Linked DNA regions of Homo sapiens: all the other regions are linked to region 3. The links are contacts of gene promoters, found by promoter capture Hi-C in human tissues and cell types (Jung and others, 2019). All regions are on one chromosome and are shown on one strand. The core of a region is centred on a gene start or on the middle of the fragment in contact, and the rest is flanking DNA. Distances in the headings are between cores, read along the strand shown.

Region 1 (3,864 bases), core at 481-2,980, 430 kb before region 3:
ACAAAAATTAGCCAGCTGTGGTGGCACGTGCCCGTGGTTTGCAGCTACTCGGGAAGCTGAGCCCAGGAGTTGGAGGCTGTAGTGAGCCATGATCACGCCACTGCACTCCAGCCTGGGCAACAAGAGTGAAACTCCATCTCAAAAAAAAAAAAAAAAAAAAAAAAGGCTTCCCCAGGCCATTCAAATGTACAGCCAAAGTTAAGAAACATTGTCTAAAGGGATGTGTTTCCGGCAAAAGAAAAATTATCCCAGATGAAGGTCTGAGGTTCATTCCTTCATTCAACATATGGAGCCTCCATTATGTGTTTGGAACTGTTCTAGACACCAGGAACACAGCAGTGAGCAAAACAAACCAAAGTCCCTGCCCTCTAGGAGAGGAAAACAGACCCAGAATAACATAAATAAGTAAAACATGCTCCGTTAGACAGTAATAGATGCTGAGAAGAAAAAATGAAGCCAGGAAAGCGGATGTGAAATGCTGGATACGTGTGTCTGTGAAATTTCAGATGGAGTAACTAGGGAAGATTTTTGGGTAAAGACCAAAATAAAGGGAAGGAGGGAGCCATGCAGACGTTTGGGTTATGGCAGGTGCAAAGGCCTTAGGGCGGGAGTGTGTCTGACTTACTCCAGGACCCAGCAGGTCAATGGGACTTGAGTGGAATGAGGCAGGGGCAGGGCAGTCAGCTACGAAGACAGAGATCGGGAGGCAATTTGCGAGCCCTGGGACAGATCTCGGATTTTGCTTTAAGTGAGATGGGAGTACTTGGGTCGGGGAGTGGCATGGGTTTGATTTACATTTTAACAGGACTCTCCGGCAGCTAGGTGGAAATGGACGGTAGGGGGCAAAAAGAGAAGCAAGGAGGCCCAGGAGGAGGCTGGTTCAAGACCCCTGAGATGATGGAGCACTGATGGAGCTGGAGCGGGATGGGGCCGGAGGAGGTGAGGGATGAGATTCTGCAAGTGGAGCCCGCAGGATCTGCTGATCGATGGGACGAGGAACGGGAGAAAAATTAAAGCGGCGCATGAGGCAGACGAATGCAAACTTCACCAATAGCTCAACGAAAAGACAGACGGTGACCGCTGAGAGGCAGCGTCGGATCTGGGTAAGGGCGGGTTCCTGAGCCTGCCAGGCCTGGATTCAAACCTCGGCTGAGTGGCCTTGGACAGGTCATCAACAAACAGAGCCTTCGTTTATTCATGTGCAAACGGGGCCAAGGACCGGGCCTGCCCCGAGGTATGCCTGAGGCTTGGGTGAGCAGGCGCCGGGCTCGCAGGGCGCGCTCCTAACCCGTCCCCAGCGGCTCGACGCTGTGGATCCCGCCGCCCTCCAGCCCCGGCTCCGGCGCCGACTCCTGCTCAGGCTCCTGCTCCTGCCCCCGGCCCCGCCCCCGGCCCCGGCCCCGGCCCCCGGCCCACCCCGGCCCCGCCCCCAGCCCCCGGCCCCCCCGGCCCCGCCCCCGGCCCCGCCCCGGCCCCGCCCACCCCGCCTGCGGCCCAGCTCCTTCCCGCGGCTCTGCGATGCGGCCCGCAGGGTGACCCGGGCGGGAGTCCGGGGACCCGCGATCAGCCCCGGAGGACGGGGTGGGGTCGCCCCAAACAGGAGCGCCGGGACCGCTGGGACCCCGCACTCGGCGTCCGCCGCCGCCGGGTAGCCGGGCAGTGGAGGTCCCGGATGAGGCGACAATTTTTCCGGCCCCCCCTCCCAGTCCCGCCCCACTTCCGGGGCCGCCACTTTCACTTTCTCTTCCGCCGAAGCCGCTCCCCTTGCGAAGAACTGGGGCCTCCCGGGAGGAGAGAGGGCTTTGCCTTGAAACCCGGGACGCCAGGGGCGCTCCCGCAAGTGGGGGTCCTCCGGGACTTGGAACGCCCCGGCTGGGTGGTGTCCGGGCGTCCTTTCCCCGCTTCTTCCCACCTCGGCTGGTCCCGTTTCCTCCTGCGCCCAGTGCGGACCTGTCTCGGCGCCCGCTGCCCTCTCACCGCCCCACGCAGGATCCCGGCCTGGTCACCGGGCAGTGTGATGCTTCCCGACTGCCGCGGGGACAGCGAGGCACACACAGGGCTTGGGCCGCGCCGGAGGCCACACGGCCTGGCTGAGTTGCTCCTGGTCTCCCGCCTCTCCCAGGCGACCCGGAGGTAGCATTTCCCAGGAGGCACGGTCCCCCCCAGGGGGATGGGCACAGCCACGCCAGATGGACGAGAAGACCAAGAAAGGTGGGCACAGGCTGGAGGTGGCTGGGGAACTTCCGGTGGGAAGTGGGCCCCGCAGGACCTGGCCTTGCCCCTGGCCAGAAGGGCCTTGGAGAGGGGGCTTTAGCCTGCCCTCCCTCTACCCTCCTCCCCATCAGTTTCCTCCTTTGGTACCTGCTGGCTTCCAGAGCCATCTTGGGGCCCTGAGAACTCCTTGGGCTGGCTCTGTGCTGAGATGGGGCTAGGGGACTCGCAGAGGACACAGGGCATTGAACTTGGAGACCTCCTGGGCTGGTGGGAGACAGACGTCAGTTGACCTGAGAAGCAGGGGTACTTGCCTCTTCTCTTGTCCCCTGCACCTAGGGTTGTAGAACGGAAGTCAGTCACTGCCTTGCTGGAAACCCTCCCATGCCCCTCTGTGTTCTCCAAACAAAACCCAGAGGCCCTGGGTGGCCCACAGGATATCTGTCCTCAGTCACCCCGCCATGCTCACTCTACTGGAGCCCCACTGGCTTCCTTCGGTTCTCATCCAACCATTTTTTGGCCAAGGCCCTTACTCTTCCTTCCACCTGGACCACTCTTCCCCACTGGAGCTTGACACGTGCAGCTTCTCCTCCTTCAGGTCTTAGCTTCAGTGTTACCCCCTCCCAGAGGCCTCCCCTGGTCTCCTTAACCTGTTTATTTCCCTGCCAGCAAGGATCGCAATCTGACTTTTTTTTTTTTTCTTGTTAAACTTGTTCATTGTCTCCCCACTGGGCAGGGAGATCCATAAGGAGAGGGGCCCTGTTTATAAATCTCTGTGGGATTCCAGTTCCTGGGACAGTGGGTGGCACACAGTAGAAGCTCAATAACTGCTTGTTGGATAAATGAATAGAAATATGAGGGACCCTGGGAATGGGAAGGACAAACAACCAAATGAGCCTAGTGTGAGGAGGAGTGGGGAATATTAGAGAACCCCTCCCGGAGAAAGGGACTTTTAGTCTGGGTGCTGAAGGATACGTAGGAGTTCACCAGGAAGACAGAGAAAGCAGCACACACAAAGGATCGCCTCCTTTCCTACCCCATTACTCTCAGCTCCTGAAAATAAACCCTGTGCTAACTGGCTCCTGCTGTACTGGCTTTCAGCAGAGGAAATGGCCCTGAGCCTCACCCGAGCAGTGGCGGGCGGGGATGAACAGGTGGCAATGAAGTGTGCCATCTGGCTGGCAGAGCAACGGGTGCCCCTGAGTGTGCAACTGAAGCCTGAGGTCTCCCCAACGCAGGACATCAGGTGAGGAGTGCATGGCTGGCCTGAACCCAAGGGACAGCAGGACAGGATATTCTTGCCTGTAGAACAGTTCTTCCTAATGGCACGTTCTGGCTTCAGGAGGCCTGGCTTCTAACCCTAGTTATGTCATTAATCAACTGTGAAATACAGAGCAGGTCACTTCACCTCTCAGTGTGTCCTCATTTTAAAAATCAGACCGTAACAGTAGCTATCTCATAGGGTTGTTAGGAGGTGTACTGTATTAGGATGTTAGGCCTTATACAACAGAAGAAAACGGAACAGTGACGTAAACAAATTTGATGGCAGGGAGTCCAGATAGGGAGGTTCTGCTCCCGACAGTCCTCAGAGGCTCATATTGTTTCTCTCACCATTCTGCCATTCATTCCCAGATTCCTCATGGTGCAAAATGG
Region 2 (3,861 bases), core at 48-2,547, 320 kb after region 3:
TTTCTCGAAGTTTACTAGCCATTTGGATTTCATCTTTTGTGAAGAGGTAATCAAATCTCTTGTTCATTTTTCTATTGGCTTGTCTTTTTATGACTTGTTGGCATTGTTTATATAATATATTCTGAATTTAAGTCCTTCATTAAATATATGTATTACAAATGTCTTCCTCCCCTCTGTAGCTTGCCCTTTTACCCTATTAATGGTTTTTTTTAATTATTGTTAAAGCATTCCTAATTTTTATGTAATCTAGCTTATCAGTGCTTTTCCCTTTATGTTTGGTGCTCTTTTGATTTTTGTTTAAGAAGTCTTTGCCTTATGCCAAGGTCATGGAGAAATCCTCATATATTTTCTCCTAGAAGCTTTAATGGTTTACCTTTTATGTTTAGATCTATAATCCATCTAAAATATTTTTTATGTGTGGTGTGAGATTTATATTTTTCCACATTGATATCCAGTTGGTCTAGCACCATATTTTGAAAAGATTATCCTCTACCTATGTTACTTTAATAATTTAATTTTCATTTTTCATTACTTGTGCAACTATTCTCTATTCTTAAAATTTGTTTTCATTCCTTTCGCCTTGGAGTCACATAATATCCCTTTGGTTTTTTCCTGTGGATAGCAAAGTTCAATAACATTTATACAGCTACTGTTTATTCAGTGCCATTGATTCTAGACAAATGCTGGGCATTTAATCCATGTGCTCTTATTTAATCCCCTCAACAATTCCATGAGATTGGTAAGGGCTATCCCCATTTTGCAGGTAAGGAAGCTGAAGTTCATGTACAGTAAGTAACTTCACAACAGTAAGAAGCAAAAGTTGTGTTATAATAGTAAATTATTGAATTCTACTTATGGGACTCAGGCACTACACTTTTGTAAGCATTCTCATTTAATATGTATAACAACCCTGTGAAATAGATACTATTGTCTGTATTTTACACAAGAGAAAGCTAGAGCTTGGAGATTTTCTAACTTGCCCTGGGTCACACATCTGTGAAATGGTGAGGCCAGAATTTGGACTTGAGTCTTATGCCCAAATCAATCTAAGTGTCCATCATGTGCCACTTACTGGGAATATGTCATGAGGTGTGGACCCAGCCTTCAAGGAGCTCACAGTTGATAGGGGCTAATTGCCCTTTTCATTCCAGATCATAAATCTTTTTAAAACAATGGTAGAAGTATGTCTGAGATCTGCTGAAGCACATTAAAGAGTGATTAATCTGAAGGATAGAAGGAAAGTTTTCAGAGAGATGATGCCTGATGAGCTAAATTTTAAAGGACCAATAAAAGTTCTGTGGTATTGAGGGTAATTGACTTTTATGGCAGAGGGAACGATGGGTACCAGTGGGGCTATGAAATCATCTTGTAGAAGTGGGGGAGTTTTTGTTTCACTCATGTCAGCATGTGAAGGGAGAAAAGATGAACATGAGGGCCAAATCACAAGGCCAGTATGTGCTAAGAAGCTGGATTTGATCCATGGGGTGATGGGAGCCATCAATGTTTTGAAAAGTTACGTGGTTGGGACTCGGTTAACCACGGATTTTTTTTTTTCCTCTTGAAGAATCCCAGTCATATTCTGACAGTGGACGTGTTAACATGGTTAATATTTATTGAGCTTTTACTGTGGGCTGAGCAGTTACATTAAATGTAAAGTATATGTAAAACAATATCTTTTAAGCCTCATAAGAGAATGAGGTAGATGCTCTTGGTATCTCTGTTTTATGCAAAAGAAAACTGAGGCAGCAAGAGCTTGACTTGCCCAAAGCAACACATCTTATGAGCATTGGAGCAGGATTCAGCCCTTAGTATTTCCAACTTTTGACACATGTATTGGCAGTTGTTTCAGAAGAAATGAGTTTGGCTTGGATTGCTCCAAGAACAAAGAAATGAACTTGGCTTGGATTGCTCCAAATACTGGTTTGAACACAGTACAGCAGTGGAGCAGAAACAGAGGAGATGACACCATGGGGTAAGCACAGTCCGATGCATATAACCCATGGGGCCAAGATCAGGAGAATGGGAAGCCACTGGACAGGTTTTACAAGGGAGGGACTTCATATTGTTTACATTAAAAAACAAAATAACCCTCTGGCTCCTTTGTAGAGATGGATTATAGAGGGACAAGAGTAAAAACAGACCCAGAGAAGAAGCTGACACAGGCAGCCAGGCAAGAAATAATGGTGGTAGGTGGTAGACTATGGTGGTATATAAGGCAGGTGGCTCTGGGGTATATTTGGAAGTATACCTGACAGGACTTGCTGATGGGTTGGCTTAATGAAGGGAAGAAAACTCAAGGACAATGCAAGTTCTTTTTTTAGCCTGTCATTTCTGATTTGGGACTGCCATAACTAATGCTTCAGTAGACATACTTTTATGCAACTTGGAGCACGTCTCTGAATGTTTCCTTAGAATAGATTCCTATAGAATTACTACATTAAGGACCAAGCCTGTTTATAGAGATTTTGATACAGATTGCTCAGTTGCCCTTTTTCTAAACAGTTGTGTTAATTGACATTCTCACTATGTTTCAATGTCATTTCCCTATCCTTACCAATGCTGGAGTCAGTCTCATTATTCTTCTAAATTACTTAGAAAAACATTGTCTTCATAACATCTGTAAGCTAACTGAACTCAAAGTGTAAGGCCAGTAAAGTGAGGAAAGTGTTTGCAGCATATGTGTGCATCATAAATTGCCACAAATGAGTAGCTTAAAACTGCACCCACTTATTATCTCATAATTCTCTAGGTCAAGAGTATGGATTTGCTTGGCTCATTCAGGTCACTGGCAGAATTCAGTTCCTTGCGGTTATAAGACTAAGGTCCGTATCCCTCTCCCTCAGCTCCATAAGACCTTCTGCATTTCTTCTCATGTGTCTGCCACCTCTTCAAAGCCAGCAGTGCTGTGTTGAGTCTCTTCTTGGGCATTCTTCTTCCTCCACAATCCATGTTCTGTGCTTTTAAGGGTTCCCATGTATTAGATTAGCCCACCGAGATAATGTCCCCTTTTGAGGTCAACTGTGCCATACAACGAAACAATAATAGGATTGCTTTCTCATCACATTCATAGGTACTGGGGATTAGGAGTTGTGGAGTCTTGAGAGGGGATCGAATTCCATCTACCACAATCTGTTCTCTGACCTCTCAAATGTGAAATATATCTTTCTTCCCCTGAGGTTTCCAAGAGTCTTAACCCGTTACTACATCAACTCAGTCTAAAATCTTATCTAAGTCTCATTAGCTTGAAGGACCAAGATCTAATCATCTCAGTCAGGTGCAGTTGAGGCTCCTGAGCACAACTCCTTTCAATCAGTTGACCAAAGAAACAAGTTCTTTGTTCCCATCATATAGTAGTGGAGTGACAGAGGATAAGAAATCTGTGTTTTCTAACATAGAAAAAAAACATGTGCATGAAAGTTATTAAGTACAGTATTATTTGTAGTTACGCATGCATACCCCAGAAACATCAGTGCTTGCAATAGAAAATTAAGTAAATTTTTAAAATTTGCTTCACTTGAGTATGTATTACTTGGCCATTAAAAATGTTAATAGTAAAGACAACTTAGGAAATACAGCACCTATGTGGAGGAAAGCAATGAGATCCAAAATGATATAGTATTGTTACAGTCACATTAAAACATGCTTATGAAAGAAGACATGAAAATAATGCAAAAGTAATCATTGTGTTAGAGTCAGATTATGGGTGACATTTTTCTGTTCTGAATGCTTTACAATTTTTAGCATAATTTATGTATATTTTTTCTTTCTGTTTTTCTTTCTTCTAAAAATCTTTGATCACTTAGCTTAAATGTAGCATTTCCCAACCCTTCTCAGTCCCTGGTTCAGCTTTGATCTCACAGG
Region 3 (3,543 bases), core at 938-3,437:
TATAAAGCCCTAACACAATGTAGCAGAGGGCACAGGGCCAGGATTGATATTTAGCTGGTCCTCACGGATACAGCAGACTCCCTGTTTATGACAGTGGTTGGCTCTGATTTGGTTGGTGTCCATGCCAGAGTGTACAATCATTATTAGCTATTGATATATTATTAGCTCCCTCCCCTGCCCACCCAGGGGTTTACGCAGTAAGTTCTCAATTATTGGCAATCCAAACAAAGAATAAAAGACACCAGCTGGAATGAAACAGAGAAGCTGGTTCCAAATTGAGCAATTCAGACTGACTGCTATAAAATTTCCTCACCTTAAAGGCCCTTAGAGTTAATTCATTCTAATCCCCCTAAAAATATACTTTTTTGACATGTTCAAGTATTGGAAATTTGGAAAATTCACAAAAACACAAAGAAGAAATTAACTGCTGTGATTATAGATGATTATACACATATACATATGTATTTAATACATATTTATGCTGTACATAGTGTTTTGAAGCATACTGTACTTCAAAAAAATTTGGGAGGGGTGCATTGGCTTATGCCTGTAATCCTAGAAATTCAGGAGGCCAAAGCAGGAGGATCACTTGAGGCCAGGAGTTCTAGACTGGCCTGGGGCAACATAGCGAGACCCGTAGCTTGACATGGTGATGCGGGCCTGTAGTCTTAGTTACTCTGGAGGCTGAGGTGTGAGGATTGCTTCAACCTAGGTTACAGTGAGCTATGATTGCACCACTGCACTCCACCCTGGGCAACAGAGCTAGACCCTGTCTCTAAAAAACATAAATAAACCAATGTTTAATACTTAGCATTTCCCCCTATCTTTAAATATCTTCTAGCTACTTCACTTTTATTTTTATCTTTTTGAGATGATCTCTTGCCCAGGTTGGGGTGCAGTGGCATGATCTCAGCTTACTGCATCCCCCACATCCCAGGTTCAATCTATTCTCCTGCCTCAGCCTCCTGAGTAGCTGGGATTACAGGCATGTGGCACCACGCCTGGCTAATTTTTGTATTTTTAGTAGAGACGAGGTTTCACCACGTTGGCCAGGCTGGTCTTGAACTCCTGACTTCAGGTGATCTGGTCGCCTCAGCCTCCCAAAGTGCTGGGATTACAGGTGTGAGCCACTGCTCCTGGTAGCTACTTCACTTTTAATGGCTGCATAATATTCCTCATCAGAAAGTGGGAAAAATTAGGCTAGGTGGCGTGGCTCATGCCTGTAATCCTAGTACTTTGGGAGGCTGAGTTGGTAGAATTGCTAGAGCTCAGGAGTTTAAGATCAGTCTGGGCAACATGGCAAAACCCCATCCCTACAAAAAATACAGAAAATACCGGGTGTGGTGGTGCACACCTGTAGTCCCAGCTACTTGGGAGGCTGAGGTGGGAAGATTGCTTGACCCCAGGAGATTGAGGCTGCTGTGAGCTGAGATCCTGCCACTGCACTCCAGCCTGGGCGACAGAGTGAGACTCCATCTCAAAAAAAAAAAAAAAAAAAGAAAAGAAAAAGATAAAGAAATAAATAAAGTGTTAATAATTAAAAGTACTTTTAGAGGGTTATGTCATAAGCCTTGACAAGACTTGTTCTGTAAAGCTACCCGGCATGCAAAAAGCTCAATTAAGTTAGCTCCTCCACAGGATGGAATTATATAACCAATCCCTTTCAAGAGGCATTGAAGTTGTTTCCATTATTTTGCTATGATGAATAAGGCTGAGCAATATTAATCTTTGCTCATATCTTTGGTCATTTCCTTTGTAAATTTCGGGACTGCTGGGTATGCACATTTTAAAATTAACTCACTCATCATCATGCAGTTAGGAGAACAGAGAAAGGAAGGGGCTTGCACCGGGTCACATAGGGAGTTAGCGTCAAAGTCAGGACTAGGAACCAGCCAGGGCCCTCTAACTGGAGCTCTTCCAGCTGGGGTCCTAGAGGAAGTCCCAGCTGGCCGCGGGAGGGAGGAGGAGGAAGGGAAAGAACCAGGCGCCGGGGCTGAAGCGGCGGCAGGAAGAAGGTGGGGCCGGCTGGGAGGAGCGGGCGGAGCTGCTGAGCAGCGCCTCTCCTTCGGGCGGGGGAAGCTAAGCGGTCGCCTGGCAACCCTGGCGGCGCGCCGTTCGAACGGAAGCGAGGAACCAATCAGGAAGTCCGGGGCGAACCATTCTGGTGTGAAGGGGGGCGGCGTGCTCACTTCCCCTTCCACGGCGCCCCAGGGACTTTCCCTGCGGTGGGGGCCTTCGACAGTGAGGGCCACCCGCTCAGCTCGACCGCGGAGGGCAGCTCCAAAGGGGACCCCAAAGGTGCCCACGCGGGGCTGGGGCCTCCTGGGCGTCGTTGGGAGCGGCCACTACCGGCCCGGGTCCGAGCTGTCAGCCTCTCCAAAGCCTGCGCGAGAGGAGCCGGGACACGCCTAGCGCGGGCTCCAGGTGAGGGCGCGGGTGGGTCCGGGTGCGACCCCGGGTCTGGGGGCCCCGTTCCCCGAGCGTCTGCTGTCTGCTTTCTCCCCGCGTCGTACCTGCGTGTCATTTCACAGATGAGGACTCTGAGGCTCAGAGAGGCAAGTGTCCCGGCCCGGCGAGCTCTGGCGGAGAATCCAGTTCAAGTCTTTCTGCCCCACCTCGCAGCCCCCTAGTCTAGTCACATCTGGACTTGCCTTGAGAGGCCCAGACGGGCAACTGGTAGTCATTTTCCCAGCGTTTTATCGGCAGGGACCTGTAGACCCCTGGCTGGATCACATATCCCCGCGCCCCACACTGTCCTCGGGATACCCCCTTTGGGCGTCTGTCTTTCCTTCTCCGCAGTCCGGGGTTGGACTCGGCTCATTTGGCGCCTTTCTGTCTACGGGGACAGAGGACCACTCTTTGGGGATCGGACGGGACTGACATTTCTGGGCTGGATGCAGGGGCAGCAGATTCTCCAGCCCCCAGAGCCGCTGCTGGCCTCTTGGGAATCATCCCCAGTTTGGGGAAGGGAATAGAGCCAGTCCCTAAACCAAAGCCACTAGTCACCAGAGACTTTGGAATTGGGAGTGGGGCCGGAATCCCCCCAGGTGGAGCAGCTGACCTAGGCCAGACCCTGCTGTGTCTCCTGGGGACACCCCCTGCCCCCTAGGTTGCTATTGTCAGTCTCCTTTTGTAGGTGGGGAAACGGAGGTTCTAAGAAGTTAAGCCCCTTTTCGAAGTCACAGTCAGACAATGCAGTGGTTAGCTCCTAGTCCCTCTGGCTTCAATCTTAGAATCCTTGACACACAGAATCATGCATTTTGAGAGTCTTCAATCTCTTCATAAGGGAGTTACATATCCTCTCTCCTCTGGAGCCTGCCCCTGGCTTTGGGGGACAGGATCTCCGAGGACTCAGAAAGAAAACAAGGCTTTCTTTTATTCTTTCAACAAATATTATTTATTGACTTCATAAGCCCTGCTCTGGTTCTTGCATGTTTTGGTTTTTTTACTTATTAGCAAATGTATCATCTTCTCCCACTGTGATGCAAGGCAGGGGCTGAGGCAATTGAGCCAGTGCAAAATTTAGGGATGCCCAAAACCTCA
Region 4 (3,607 bases), core at 4-2,503, 370 kb after region 3:
AGTAACTCCATCTTGAATAGGGGCTGGGTAAAATGAGGATGAGACCCACTGGGCTGCATTCCCAGATGGTTAAGGCATTCTAAGTCACAGGATGAGATCAACACAAGATACAGGTCGTAAAGACCTTGCTGATAAAACAATTGCAGTAAAGAAAGTGGCTAAATCTCACCAAAACCAAGATGGCCACAAGAGTGACCTCTGGTCATCCTCACTGCTACACTCCCACCAGCGCCATGACAGGTTACAGATGCGATGACAACATCAGGAAGTTACCCTATATGGTCTAAAAAGGGGAGACATGAATAATCTACCCCTTGTTTAGCAGATCATCAAAAAATAACCATAAAAATGGGCAACCAGCAGCCCTCAAGGCTGCTTTATCTATGGAGTAGCCATTCTTTTATTCCTTTACTTTCCTAATAAACTTGCTTTCATTTTACTGTATGGACTCCCCCTGAATTCTTTATTGCATGAGATCCAAGAACCCTCCCTTGGGGTCTGGGTTGGGACCCCTTTCCTATAACAATGGGAAGAATAAATGGTGTGTCAGGACTGTGTTTGCCTGCAAGTAGCAGAGTGTTCCATTAGACATCGGGTCTGTTTTCTCATATAGATGCTGTTGCCGAGTCAGGGGTGCAATGATTTCTAATGGCTCTGTGATTTTCTTGGGCTTTGTCTTATGGTCGCAAGACAGTTACCATAGCTCCAGACATTACATCCACATTCAAGGCAGAAGGAAAAGGGAGAAAGTAGGAGTAAAAGGGAAGCAGCAGTGACATTTTCCCTTTTGTTAGGAAGGTAAAAGTTTTTCTGGAAGCCTAACAGCAAATTGCTGCTTTGATCTCATTTGCTGGAAATGGGTCACATGGGGATTCCAGAAACAAGGAAACTTGGAAAGTGAGCATTTCCTTTATCTGGACTCTATAGATAAGTAAATGAGGACAGGGACTTGGGACACCCGTGGAGGTATATGCCAAATGAGACATATACATAGTTTATATGTAAAGCACAAAGCAAACCCTTAGAAAAGAGTGCCTATTTTCATAATAACCATATTGTTGCCATTTAAAGCTTTGCATTCTCTGTGATCCTGTTGGCATCACATATTCTTGGCTTCTGGAACAGCAGGCTCCAAGGTACTCGGACCCATAATGGTCTCCCTCCCTTCCTCCTTGTTCTGTTCAGAGCACTAAAGCCCTTTAAAAAAAAAAAAAAAGCCAGATTACATTTTTCAATGTGAGCTACTTCCTGCTCTCATTAACTCCATCTTCAGTGATTTGGCCAGAACCTGCTGCCAGTCTGAAAGAGTTGGGGGAATGTACAAGTCAAAGATCCCTCGGGCCCAGAACCAGGTCAGTGTCAAGGTCACTCCTAAGAACACTGAGATGAAAATAGCAGAAGAGCCCAGCCCGAGTCTTGGGCAGACCTTGGAGTGGCTGAGAAAGGAGCTGGTAAGGTTTTGCATTGCTTTTCCTTGATGCCCCGACTACATATTTTCCAAAGATCTCTGGTTTTCCTTCCCGGGTCCCCCCTGGGGCAGAGGCTGCAGGCTACGGTATGGACCCTGCAGTCTCCCCTCTGGGACCTACCACACAATGCACAATTGTGATCTCAGGTTCAGGGATAAGTAGGTCGTGGCCTATATGGGAGGTGCTGGGTGTGGTGCTGGCCAGACTGGTTTTAGAATGACACTGAGTCCTCCGTGTGTGCTGAGTCCTCTGTGTGGCTCTAGCAGGGGATTTATCTCTTTGAGCCTCAGTTTCCTTATCACAAAATGGGAATAACAATAGTACCAATATCATATGGGGTATTGTAAGGATTCACTGAAGAGATGCTTGTAATCCTCTTAATGAATACTTGGCACCGTGGTGCTGGCTATTATAACCCTGACCCAGATGGACATGCGTACACCCAATGTCTTAGCCTGGGTCCCCTAGAAAGCAGAGGCTTGGACAAGGATTGAGAAACTAGCACTTTATTTGGAAGTACAAGCCAAGGGTGGTGATAGGGAGGAACATAGGGTGTGGCAGCAGAGGCCAATGCTATGCCAGGCAATTACGCCAGACATTGTATTACCAAGCAGCCTACGGCTTCAGAAGTTGCCTTAAGGAGGCCCAGTGGGTGTCTCAGCAGCTGAGATGCTCTGCAGGGGTTGAAGGAGGAACTGCACATTGGGGGAGAGAGAACGAGAGGAAATTCATCTGCCCAGCTCGTTCCTGTCTCTCATTTCCCATTGGCAAGGGCCTCCCCCATGGAGCACTAACTCTCCTGACCCGATGTTATGTTACTTGGTCCTGTGGTTGCTGCTCAGGAAGCCAGGCTTATGCCTTTCATTATGGTATTTTCTCCAAGTCCGAAAAAAGAGGGGTGCCCCCAAGTGTGTGGGGACACCAGCCAGGAGAGAGGAGGCAGCTCAGGGAACCTCAGAAGAGGTTTGTTTCTCAATATACACACCTCTCATCCTGGGGAGAGACAGACAGGATTGTCCAAAAATGACCTTTCTGGGTTGCCAGGCAACAGGCCAGCTGGGACCCAACCCTGTCATCACCCCAGAGGAAGGGCTGACCCAGTAGGGTTTCTCATGGGACCAGGGAATTCCAGCAGCAGGGACTGCAGCTTCCCACAGTCAGCAGGCATCCAGCACTGGGCAGCTGTCTTCCTTATGCTCCCTGAAACTGTGGGTGCCTGGATGCCTCATCACCACCTCCGTGCTGGGAACCCCACTGTGGTCTTGTAGGCGCATACCCAGAAATATGTGCAGGAGGAAAACCCTAAAATCGAGAAAACACAGAGTGAATGTTTTCTGAGGAATTAGGAAAAAATGGGCCCAGGACCACTCGCTCTGCAGCCTGAGTCGTCCCAGTGTTCTGAGGGAGGCCGACTACACCTTTGCTTCACGTCTTTCCTTTTTTTTTTTTTTTTTGAGATGAAGCCTCACTCTGTCGCCCAGGCTGGAGTGTAGTGGCACGATCTCGGCTCACTACAACCTCCGCCTCCTGGGTTCAAGTGATTCCCCTGCCTCGGCCTCCCTAGTAGCTGGGATTACAGGCGCATGCCACCACGGCTGGCTAATTTTTTTGTATTTTTAGTAGAGACCGGGTTTCACCATGTTGGCCAGGCTGGTCTTGAACTCCTGACCTCAGGCAATCTGCCCACCTCGGCCTCTCAAAGTGCTGGGATTACAGGTGGGAGCCACTGGGCCTGGCCTCACATCTCTCTTTCTAGCTACATATTCTCTTGGCAGTGTTACTCATGCTTGAGTAGAGGATGCAGACTTGGTCTTCTTACTTGTAATCAGCTTGTCACAAAAATGAAAACACTATTTTTAGTGGGGAAATAATGTTCATAAGTATCTCTTGCAAAGAGAGACAGAGAAAGAGAGAGGCTGAGAATCTGTATATCTAACCATGTGTTGCCCCGACCAGCTTTGGAAGGAAAAACAGAAGCATTTGCAGTGGCTGCCTCTGGAGAAGGACGCTTGAGTTGAGGGATAAAGTGAGGTGGGTGGGAGAGACTTTTAAATATATGTCCTTTTGTAGCTTTTAAATTTTCTATCATGTGTTAAGAATTACTTAGTCAAAAAATAGAATTTTAACATTTTTAAAGA
Region 5 (3,429 bases), core at 199-2,698, 320 kb before region 3:
GCTAATGTATTTTTATTGATGAATTTCCTAGTATCAGAAATGGAAAAGATCATTCTAGAACTTTAAGTCAATTTTTGAACTGTAATATAATTAGTTCTTTTTAACCCTAATGTTTATTAGTCTCCATCTTAAAAGGAAAAAAAAAATCTCCTTCTCATCCCTAAATGAACCATAGCAAATGAACAAGATCTCATCATCATCCCGACAGGACAAAGATTTCTATAGCAAAGAATGAGGAATGTGCTTAGATTGCACTGACTGCATGGTTTAGGACTGCTTGTTTAGAGGAAAAGCAGCTATACAGGAAGACACCTTTTATGCACTGCTGCAGAGAATGAACTCTTTTTCCAAGCAATCAGGCAACATAAACTGGTAAGAGACAAACAAGACTTGTGGAACTCAGCGAGACCTTAAATATGTATACTTTTCTACCTTGCTACAGAAGCAAAGAGAAAAATTCAGTCAAACTTGCCCATTTCCCTTTACAAAAGGGGCACTGATTAGAAGGCCAACTTAATACAAAAAAGCACAAGTAGCTAATGTTACCTGAATTACTTATTTCAAATGTCCATACTTAACCTTAATTTCTTTCTTCCTTTCCAATCAAGAGCAGAATGCTCATACATCAAGCATTTACTGAACGTTTACTATGTACCAGGAAATGTGTGCCTGACTGCCAGAAAGGCATTCTTTCTCTTGGTCCTGGAGAAAGTATCTCTGCCCTCAGACAAAGAAAACAGACCATTACAATCTCAAGTGATCAGTGCTTGAAACAATTAAGTCATGGTGGTGTACAGACGTTGAAGGGTATTTAAACTATCACCAACCCATCATTCATTCAACAAATATTTATGGAGTACCTAAAATGGGGAAAAACTGTAAGAGAAAAAAAAAACTGCACTTAAAGTACGCACAGGAATTATTCAGATGGAAAACATTAAAACAAGAAATTGCAAAGCGTAACACTTTAAAGCAAGTTAAGAATTTTAAAGACCTATAATTTTGCACCCTAAAATGACCAAAGGCTGGCACATTTTGTTATCTTCTATAAGAAACACATCATTGGATGCCACATGCAACGTGGCATCAGGTGTAAAAAAGCACCTGATGTGCTTTTTTTGCACATCAGGTCAGCAACCTTTTTATATCTGATTTGGAGACTATTAGTTTACTCGACTGTTACCATTTTGTGCTTAAAACAAACAGTATCATTAATTCACAAGCTTTGGAATTCTTTCTCTTTATTTTCTTTTCTCTACTTCCAACACTAATCAGTTCCTTGTTGCCCAAGCTGGAGTGCAGTGGCACAATCGTAGCTCACTGCCACTTCAAATTCCTGGGCTCAAGTAATCCTCCCACCTCAGCCTCCCAAGTAACTGAGGCTACAGGCATGTGTCACCACACCTGGCCCACTCATCTTTAAATAAGACAGAGAAGTAATTATAGCCAAAAGGGAATAGAAAATGCAAACCCAGAGATATAAGCAAGCAAGGAAGCCTGGAAAGCCTTTGTTGATCCTGAAAATTAGAATTTTGTTCTCACATAAACCAAAGCCCAGGGCTCTCACAAGACAAAAAGTCTAATAGGAGGCCCTCTTCATAAGGTGGGACTTCAGAGGCATACTTCCTAATGGTGAGAGTGACTAGGGAGTGGAAGATCCAGGGAGGAATTAAAGCCCTACTGAAGGGAATATCATATCTTAAGCTTGTTTTAAGGTGGTCTCTGGATTAGTGCCCATGCATACCTGATATAAGCAAGCTCTCCATGGAGGAAAGTACCTTACTGTGGGCCTCAAATGATCACTACAAATATCTATTTTTATTTTTATTATTTTTTATTTTTTTGAGACAGAGTCTCGCTCTGTCACCCAGGCTGGAGTACAGTGGCCTGATCTCAGCTCACTGCAAGCTCTGCTTCCTGGGTTCACGCCATTCTCCTGCCTCAGCCTCCCGAGTAGCTGGGACTACAGGAGTCCGCCACCACGCCCGGCTAATTTTTTTTTTTTTTTTTTTTTTAAGTAAAGACGGGGTTTCACCGTGTTAGCCAGGACGGTCTCGATCTCCTGACCTCGTGATCCACCCGCCTTGGCCTCCCAAAGTGCTGGGATTACAGGTGTGAGCCACCGCACCCAGCCAATTATTTATTTTTAAATACAATGTCCTAGCAGATCTCAAAAAACAAGAGGAAAAATATAGTGAAATCGTTGGATATACTTTTTTTTTTTTTTTTTTTTGCCACAAAGTCTTGTTCTGCCACCCAGGTTAGAGTGCAGTGGCACGATCTCAGTTCATTGCAACCTCTGCCTCCCAGGTTCAAGTGATTCTCCTGCCTCAGCCTCCAGAGTAGCTGGGACTACAGGTGCATGCCACCATGCCCGGCTAATTTTTGTATTTTTAGTAGTGAGGGGGTTTTGCCATGTTTTGGCCAGGCTGGTCTTGAACTTCTGACCTCAAGTGACCCGCCCATCTTGGCCTCCCAAAGTGCTGTGATTATAGGCGTAAGCCACCGTGCCCAGCCAGTTTGATATACTTTTAATTGGTACTAGCAGAAAAGAGAATGGGATAAAGGCAGTAACTGAAGACAGTTGAAAATATCCCAGAAGCAATCAGACACAATCAAATTCCAGAAGCAAACAATTTCCAAACAAGATCAATAAAAAGAAATCCAAAACCAAACATATAATTACAAAATAGCAGGAAAAAACAAAGATGAGTTGGGTGTAATGGCACAGGCCTATAGTCCCAGCTATTTGGGAGGCTGATACAGGAAGATTGCTTGTGCCCAGGAGTTGGAGGCCAGCCTGGGCAAAACAGCAAGACCTTGTCTCAAACAAAAACAAAAAACTAAAGACAAGCAAGTACAGAAAAAGGCAGATTATATTCAAAGAGCAACATTAGAACAGCTGATTTTTCAAAACCAACAATGAAGCCAAGTAGTTTAATACCTGCAGTGTGCTGAAAAAAATAAATAGCCGCCAAATTAAAATTCTGTTATCAAGCAAATGTCTCTAAAGAAAAAAGAAAAATAATCCCATTTTGGAAGGTCTGAGTTGAAAGAAAAAATAAAGAGCAAAAAAGAGGAAAATTTACAGACAGCTCCAAACAAACACTGATTATACAAAAGAATAACAATACCTTGAGGAGCTTTAAAACATAGAATACATAACAATAAAAACACAGTGTATTGAGGAGATTTCAAAGTATTCTTTCTAAAGGTCTTTTATTATATGAAAAGAAGATAAAATTATAATATCAGGTTTTGCTAAGTTATAGCTGCAAGTCACAAGATGTATGACAACTAATTACAGAATAAAAATAGCATATATTTCCAAACCAGAAAGAGGGAAAAGTAAAATCATAAAAAGAATCCAAAAGAATGTTAAGAAGGGAGAAGAAAAAAATCTAGAACATAAGAAGCATAGGGGAAGAA
Region 6 (3,723 bases), core at 1,109-3,608, 330 kb after region 3:
GACCTGAAGGCTAATCTTATTTTTGCCACTAACTTAGTGAATGACCCTAAGCAAGTTCCTTCTCCTCTTAGGGCCTTGTGCCAAGCCTATGAAATTGGAGGTGGCTTTCCTGCTCTAAAGCATTTTGATGTCTCATTCTGTGTTTGGTAACCCCTATAAACTGGGGCAGAGGAAAAGAATGATGGTTCAAGGCCATACTTCCCTTGAACCTTGTGTGGTTCTTGCCTAACTCTGTGGTTTTTGGACCCCATGGGGCCCAGACAGAGCACAGGAGCATGGGCTGCCTCTGAGTGTGGTGTTGAACTTCGGGAGGAGCAGGGAGCCCTGCACCTTGTGTCCTGGCCCACCTGACCTTTGGTGTTCTCCGGATCCTTTTCAGCCCGAGGCCTGACAGACGCGGGCAGTGATGAGCCCTGTTCTGGAGTGGAAAGAGCACGATAGAGCACCAGGCTAAGAGGCACGAGATCAAGGCGGTAGTCACTTCCGCTCTGCAGCTAGCATTTCAACCATATGTGGATCCTTTCATTTCTCAGCTCCCTGGATTCCTTCCCCTAAATTAGGACCTATTATTTACCTGTAGGTAAGCAAGCTACTGTAGCTCTTCTGAGGTATCTGCCAGGCTGTTTTCTGTAGCCTCAGATTGCCTATCTGCTTAGCCTGAGAACAGGTAGATGAAAACTAAACTGATGCCTAGGCCCAGGGTCAGTCTCAGATGGAAGCTGGGCCTGGGTGGGGAGGCTAGCATGCGTGGCTCCCTGGGTATTTCTGTCAGTCCCCATGGCAAGCAGTGATTTAGTAAAACACCCCAGAGTCAGGGAAGCCAACCACCTTGAAACCTTTAGAACATCTCTGCTTTGGAGAAAGACCCAGAGATCAGGCAGAGGTGCAGATTCAATCATTACTCATAACCTTTGAGAGATGGCAAATGGGAGGAGTGTTAGTCTTTGTTTTGGAATTGGACCATTCTTGCAACCAAAAGGACTTAGAGCAGTTTGCTCATAAAGACATCCTTTATTATAAAAGGAAGTATTTAAAGGATGATAGAGACCATCAGATAGAAGCAGGGAAGGTAGATAACTTTTAGGACCTTGATGTGAGGAAAAGATAAAATTTAAACAATAAATTTGCCACTTAGATTTTCTAGCAGCAAAGTCCGAAAAGATAGTTATATACAAAATTCTGTTTTCTGAAAACAAAATTGTGATTCACCTTCAGAATTGGCCATTTTTTTTGTGAGTTTCCTTGCATCAAGGACACTGAGAAACACAGTCATTGTCTTAGGTGTTCTATGGGAGGAAGTGAATAGAGCCTTTAGGAACTTCCTGGTCAAGCTTATGGTGCTTATTTTGATCTGGGCCACTTCCCTCCTTCCAGTCATGAGTAATCATCAAGGAGCAAGTTGGAGTGTTTCAGGTGTATATTTTGTAGAACCCAAAAGATTGGAGCCTTAACAATAAACATCAGCACTAAGTGACCTGTTCCTCCTTTTTTAAATAGCAGCTTTATTGAGATATAATTTACATACCCATAATTTACATACCTGTTTAAAGTATACAATTCAGTGGATTTAGTATGTTCACAGTGTTGCACATCCACCACCATTTCTAATTCCTGAACATTTTCACCACCTCAAAAAGAAACCACACACCCATTGGCATGACTCCCCATTCCCTTGCTCCCAGCCCCAGGCAACCACTAACATCTGTCTCTAAAGATTTTTTTTTTTTTTCTGGACAGTTCTCATAAGTGGAATCACTCAGTATTATGGCCTTTTGTGTCTGGCTTCTTTCATTTCATGTGATGTTTTCAAGATTCATTCATGCTGTAGCATGTATCCATGGTATGGATATATCACATTTTGCTTATCCTTTTATCAGTTGATGGACAGTTGGGTTGTTTCTACAAAAAGGCTATTATGAGTAATGCAGCCAAGAACATTTGTGTACCAGTTTTTGAGTTTTCAGTTGTTTGAGTTTCAGATGTTTTCAGTTCATTTGGGTATATACCAAGGAGTGGAATTGCTGGTTCACATGGTAGCTCTATATTCTACTTTGTGAGGAATTGTCAGACTGTTTTCCACGGAAGCTGCACCATTTTACATTTCCACTGGTAATTTATGAGGGTTCCAGTTTCCCCACATCTTCACCAACTCTTGTTATTTTTCATGCTTATGGCCATCCTAGTTAGCGTGAAGTAGCATCTCATTGTGGTCTTCTCTTCCATTTTTTAAAAAAGAATTTTGACCTACACCAAGCAAGGCAGAGACCAGAGTCAGTCCCCCTTGGGGAGCAATCTGTGGTTTTGATAATCACCACCTTGGGATGAACATGGCTGGTGAGCTGCAGAGCAGTTGATTTGACTTTTGGGGATGGTTCTAGGCTGGATGTGATACAGGGCAGGTTTTGTCTCTAGAGAAAGTTCTCATGACCTTCAGGTCTAATGAGATTCAGATCATCACTTTGGTTTGGTTTGAAATTTCTTTGTTTATCCAGTGAATTACAAGTAGAATAAAGATCTGGTTCTAAATTGTCTTTTGGTGGTGAAGTGCCATAGACCATTTCGGACCATTTCTATGATGTACCAGCAGCCCCCACATCACACCTCCTCTTCCTTGGCTTGTCTCTTCCCCAATTCTTAGAGTTAGCAGTGTTTCTTACTGCATTCATCTCCTCAGTCATAAGTGTCTGTCAACCTCCGTTGTGAAGTCATGAGTCTCTTGAGACTGAAACTCCAAGAATGTATTGTGCTCACAGTGGCGATGGTGTTCCTGTGCTGGATGGTCAGTGGTTGTTGACATGTAGTTAGAAAATAGGTAGCAAGTTCCACGCAGCCTCACTCTTTGGAACCTAGTTTCTCCTATGGCCTCCCTTTCTACTGTTGTTAATAACATTCTATTAATGATCCATGCCTCTCTTCACAGGAGGAATATTAGAATCTATGGAGCAGTTAGTATTCTTTGTCACCTAAATTTGTCTACTTCTGTACATTTCCAATAAGGCACCACCAGGGCAAGGGAAGATTCCCCACATGTATATCCCCAGCTGTTTCTGTCATAAAACTTGCATGTGTATAAACCACTATTGACTTTTTGCACCAAAGGAGATATTCAAGGACAGACATCCAAGTCCCCAGCCCTTTATTGCCCTTGGGATACCACAAGGCACAGATACAGGCAGCTGCTGTGTGGCTCTGGAGTTCCTAATCCCCAGATTGTAGCAATGATGATGTGATCCTGCTGCTCTCTGGACCGTAACCTTTTTGGTTACAAAAGGTAAATTTCTGTTTACTGCATCTGAACCCCAGGACTAATGCGTCACTGCATTAACCCCAGGACACATGGACCAAGTCACTGCGGCCGTACTTGGCCCTGAATCTGTCCTGGAGGGTGGGTCAAAAGGCAAGGGTGGCAGGTAGGATGGTAGGCAGTGAGGGGTGGCAAGGCCTAGCTGACTGAGGACAGACCCAGCAACAATGACAGGAGGTTTGAACACCTCACGAGTGGTAGTGCCCATGGGAGGTGCGAAGTGGAAGGCCCAGCCCTTGCTTGGAGGAACGTGAGGCTGATGGTGCAGTGCAATAGAGGTCACTGGATGCCCATTTGAACAGCTGCGTTCCAGATGAGCCACCTAAGGTGGATGTTGTGAGAGTCACAGTGGGTTTAGAGGGACAAGGTAGTGAGAGGATGCTGCTGACGCATTAGTCCTGGGATTCAGCTGCAGTAAA
Region 7 (3,812 bases), core at 788-3,287, 440 kb after region 3:
AGGCACTGTGCTGCTTGCTAAGATAGGAAGTTTTTTAATAGTTGAGGAAACTAGGACCACTAGAAAGAAGAAACTGGCCCAAAGTTATATAAGCACAAGTGGTGGGGTGGGGACTCTGACACAGGTATACAGGATGTAGCTTCCCGCACCGTAGTGACAGGATAGCAGTTTTCAGGGGTAAAGGTATTCAAAGTGCAGGCATGGGAGAGAGTGTGGGCTTCTGCATGCCCTGAGAGATAGATACCAGACCAGTCCTTGCAAGTGCCAGCAAGGAAGGCAAATTTTGGCTCAGTTCAAGGGATGAAAGGGAGAAAATTCTAAAAAAAAAAAAATCTAGTAACAAAACAATGTGTTTTGAGAGCTGGCACCTCATCTCTGGGCTGCTCACATAGGGCTGGATGTTCTAGGAGGAATTCTTGCCATAGGATGGAGTTTGGAAAGGCTGTGCTTGACAGCTGTAACCCAGAAGATCTGGAATCCTAGTATAGGGCTGGTCACAGATGAGGCAAGCAGTGGGTGCTGCTGGCATTCCCAGGAGAAAGAATAGCTGTAGGTTGAGACTATCTGAGAAGGCTTCCCGGAGGAAGAGGAGGAACTAGAAAGGATCTAAAGGCTGGCACTCGGGAAGGGAGCGGAAGAGGACTGTGTAAGGACTGTGAGTCTGAGGACACTGAGCTCTCTAGTCTGGCTAGGCCATCGGTCTGGTGCCCTTCAGCAAAGGGCAGCTCCCTGTCCTTTCTGGCTTTTAAAATGGTGGAAGCAGAGGTACAGTAAATCCTGGGTCCTGCGTCTTTCCCAAAGCCTCATTAGGCAGCCAGTTTGGCACCACCTCCCCCGTCTTGCTTCCCACACATCCCCTCTGTATGCATTGTAAGATTCGCCTCCCTTCCAGCCTCCCTTTCAGAAGTGGCGGACTTTGGACGTGCAGCCCCAGAGGGAGAAGGGGTGCGCTAAACATCACCTCTTCTGTGAGGCAAGTGTCATGAGGCAAACTACGTCTTCTGGCAGTGGCCACCTGCCTCACTTTTGGGGCTCAGAGCCAAAGGGGGAGGAGCCACAGCTCCATCCATTTAAGCCACCCTGGGCCTTCTGGGAGCCACTCGCTTCCTCAGAGCCAGGCCTGGCTCATTTCCAGTTCTGCCACTTGTTAGCCTGGGACTTCAGACAAATTGTGTTACCCCCTGGGCCATTTTCTCATCTGCCAAAGAGAAATCGATTATTCCTGCCTGAGAGGAGACGGGATGATCTGTTGTGGTCCCCTGTGGGAAAGAGCCTGGTATATAGCAGATGTCCCCACGAACACTGCTTCCTCCTGTCTCTATGGGCCTCGATTGCTTTTCTGACCCTCTAAGTCCCGACTCTTGTCCAGGTTAATGAAAACAGCTACACTACATGTCGGGCACAGGGGATATGTGACCTTATAGCATCTTCCTGACAGCCCAGGTAAGGAAAGCATTATTATAGAAAAGGAAGCTGAGTTATAGGAAATTTAAGCAATTTGTCCATGGCCCACAGCTGTTACATGGTGGCTGAGCTACCAAATACCTGATTCCAGGGCCCAAACTCTCCCTGCCCCTCATTTTGCTTTCTCATTCTCTTCCTCTCCCCATTTCTGTTCTCTTAGGCCTGTGAATGGGCATTCCTTCCTCCTCAAAGCTTAGCTGGGCTCTTACACCAAGGTTGCTAGCCCTGGACCTGATAGGAGTGAGGTGGTCTAAGAGCTAGAGAAGGACATTTTGATAGTTTATGACTTCAGAAAAGTCCCTGAGTGACCCTTGGACGTGTTCTACCCCAAGTCAGCAGTATTTCCTCCCTGCCATTCCTTTCTACCTCAATTACTTTTACTTGCCCTGTTTCCTCTGCCTGAAATTTTCTTCCTACTACTACTGCTATCTCCTCATGTTCAGATCTGTCTCAAGGCCCAGCTCAAACACTGTCTTTCAGGGGACCCACTTCCAACTCCCACAGCTCCTTCACAGAGCCCAGGCTCTTAGTCACCAGCCTAAGCTCTGTGCTCTCAGAGGATGGAGAGGACCTGACCCCTCCACACCCTCCTGTTCCCTGACTGCAGAGACCAGCCCTCCCTGGGTGGCACGCAGGGCCCAGATTGGAGCTGTAGACCATTTGAGCCAACTGTCTGTGGCTTCCTTCTGGAGAGCCCCTTCCCCCTCCACAGGAGGGGGGCTCCTCACTCTGGGGCCGTGTGTTTGAGAGAGAAGCCCTCAGAGGTTGTTAGGCCTGGTAGAGGTCAGTTTTGTAAGGAATCCCTGAGGCCAGCCATCCAGATGAAAAAGCCCAGGATCCAAGCCTAGGCAGCACTGGCCCCCTTGCCCTGCTCTCTGAGTGGTTGGGAACAGAGAGCGCAGGTTGGAGTTGGATACACTTGGACTGCTGTCTCCGTCTCTGCCGTGGACTGACTTTGTGACTGGGCAAGTCACTTAATTTATCTGACCCTTAGTACCTCAATAGTAAAAATGGGCATCATAATCATAACGTAGGCCTCCTGACAGCAAAGCTGGCATGAGAATTAAACTAGATTAGAAATCTTCTATGTGTAAAGCCCCTACCTAGCCCAGGGGCTTTATTTATTAAACACAGTAGGTGCTTAATAAATGCCAGTACCCTTTCATCCGTGTTGTATAGGAATCACTTTATAACTTCCCTACTTTCCCAAAGTGCCAACACATCTTCATTTGGCAGTGAGCTCCCTCCTCACTGGAGGTATTCAAACTGGGTCCGGGTGACTGCAGAACAGGAATGTTATTCCGAGAAACAGAACTTCAGTCAGATGGATGTTGGGCTTTGAAACCTTCAGATTCTTTCCTGTCCAGAATTTTTGCGATTCTGTGAAGACTTGACTCAGATCTCGTTGGTCAATTATTAGAAATCAGTTGGGGTTCGGCTTGGATGTCTGTTTTGCACAGATAAAAGACAGACTTCTGCTGGAGTTGTGAACTAATTGAAGGCTTTCTCCCAAGAGGTGGCAAGGGTAGAAACAAAATCAGGCCCAGGAGGAAGGACTCCAAGGGATCCTGGAAAGGGAATCTGGCTGGGATATTAGGGGCATGTGGCGAAATGTTTAGGTTGAATTTGGGGAAGGCTATACCACGGCTGCTAGAAATAATTTCCTGGGGCAAGGATTGTTTGATTTGTCTCTGAACCCCCGTACCCAGCACAAACCAGGTACACAGAAACATTCTAGAAAAATGTTGAGTAAATGACAAGAAGCTTTGGTGTCCCTATCAGATGGAATCCTGGGTTGAGGGACTCCTTGGGACTAGAGGCCATGTGGGAGTTTCATACTCTGTGTGTGTATGTGTATGTGCCTGTGTCTGTGTGTGTCTGTGTCTATGTGTGTGTATGTCTGTGTCTGTGTGTCTGTGTATGTGTGCCTGTGTGTGTGTCCATGTGTATGCCTGTGTGTGTGTCTGTCTGTGCCTGTGTATCTGTATGTGTGTCCGTGTGTGTGCCTGTGTGTCTGTCTGTGCATGTGTGTCTGTGTGTGTATCTGTGTGTGTGTCGTGTGTCTGTGTGTGTGTGTCAGTGTCTGTCTCTGTGTGTGTCTGTGTATGTGTGCCTGTGTGTGTGTGTCTGTGCCTGTGTGTCTGTGTATCTGTGTGTGTCCGTGTGTGTCCATGTGTGTGCCTGTGTGTCTGTCTGTGCCTGTGTGTCTGTGTGTGTATCTGTGTGTGTCGTGTGTCTGTGTGTGTGTGTGTCAGTGTCTGTCTCTGTGTGTGCCTGTGTATGTGTGCCTGTGTGTGTCTGTGCCTGTGTGTCTGTGTATCTGTGTGTGTCAGTGTGTGTGTCCGTGT

What was found. Contacts are between HindIII fragments. The study calls those that stand out against the background at their distance.
Region 1: a contact is called between the fragment with the promoter of RBCK1 here and the fragment with the promoter of FAM110A in region 3, in 1 of the 25 tissues and cell types used here (aorta).
Region 2: a fragment that was not itself captured here is called in contact with the fragment with the promoter of FAM110A in region 3 in 2 of the 25 tissues and cell types used here (dorsolateral prefrontal cortex and lymphoblastoid cells).
Region 4: a contact is called between the fragment with the promoter of C20orf202 here and the fragment with the promoter of FAM110A in region 3, in 1 of the 25 tissues and cell types used here (dorsolateral prefrontal cortex).
Region 5: a contact is called between a fragment that was not itself captured here and the fragment with the promoter of FAM110A in region 3, in 1 of the 25 tissues and cell types used here (stomach).
Region 6: a fragment that was not itself captured here is called in contact with the fragment with the promoter of FAM110A in region 3 in 1 of the 25 tissues and cell types used here (dorsolateral prefrontal cortex).
Region 7: a fragment that was not itself captured here is called in contact with the fragment with the promoter of FAM110A in region 3 in 1 of the 25 tissues and cell types used here (stomach).

The regions. Positions count from the first base shown.
Region 1 is chr20:406,569-410,432 of GRCh38, forward strand. It overlaps RBCK1 (RANBP2-type and C3HC4-type zinc finger containing 1), which reads left to right and starts at 1,731. Exons shown (of 12, transcript NM_031229.4): 1 at 1,731-2,211; 2 at 3,313-3,457. The coding sequence starts at 2,190. RefSeq lists a silencer at 1,429-1,698 and enhancers at 1,676-2,318, 2,269-2,318, 2,319-2,959, 2,369-2,468, 2,529-2,628 and 1 more. The HindIII fragment of the contact is 18,382 bases long and covers 1-3,864 here.
Region 2 is chr20:1,150,529-1,154,389 of GRCh38, forward strand. All of the region lies in intron 4 of PSMF1 (proteasome inhibitor subunit 1), which reads left to right. Among named protein-coding and RNA genes, the nearest start is that of TMEM74B, 33 kb to the right of the region's middle. The HindIII fragment of the contact is 7,151 bases long and covers 1-3,861 here.
Region 3 is chr20:831,528-835,070 of GRCh38, forward strand. It overlaps FAM110A (family with sequence similarity 110 member A), which reads left to right and starts at 2,188. Exons shown (of 2, transcript NM_001042353.3): 1 at 2,188-2,424. RefSeq lists a silencer at 2,439-2,588. The HindIII fragment of the contact is 14,108 bases long and covers 1-3,543 here.
Region 4 is chr20:1,202,201-1,205,807 of GRCh38, forward strand. C20orf202 (chromosome 20 open reading frame 202) reads left to right here and starts at 1,254. Exons shown (of 2, transcript NM_001394958.1): 1 at 1,254-1,451. The coding sequence starts at 1,386. The HindIII fragment of the contact is 15,218 bases long and covers 1-3,607 here.
Region 5 is chr20:516,721-520,149 of GRCh38, forward strand. The region is part of intron 2 of CSNK2A1 (casein kinase 2 alpha 1); the gene reads right to left. Among named protein-coding and RNA genes, the nearest start is that of CSNK2A1, 25 kb to the right of the region's middle. The HindIII fragment of the contact is 4,623 bases long and covers 1-3,429 here.
Region 6 is chr20:1,165,848-1,169,570 of GRCh38, forward strand. It overlaps PSMF1 (proteasome inhibitor subunit 1), which reads left to right. Exons shown (of 7, transcript NM_006814.5): 7 at 1-3,723. Among named protein-coding and RNA genes, the nearest start is that of TMEM74B, 17 kb to the right of the region's middle. The HindIII fragment of the contact is 6,488 bases long and covers 1-3,723 here.
Region 7 is chr20:1,274,047-1,277,858 of GRCh38, forward strand. The region is part of intron 2 of SNPH (syntaphilin); the gene reads left to right. Among named protein-coding and RNA genes, the nearest start is that of SNPH, 9.7 kb to the left of the region's middle. RefSeq lists a silencer at 1,825-2,025. The HindIII fragment of the contact is 3,510 bases long and covers 283-3,792 here.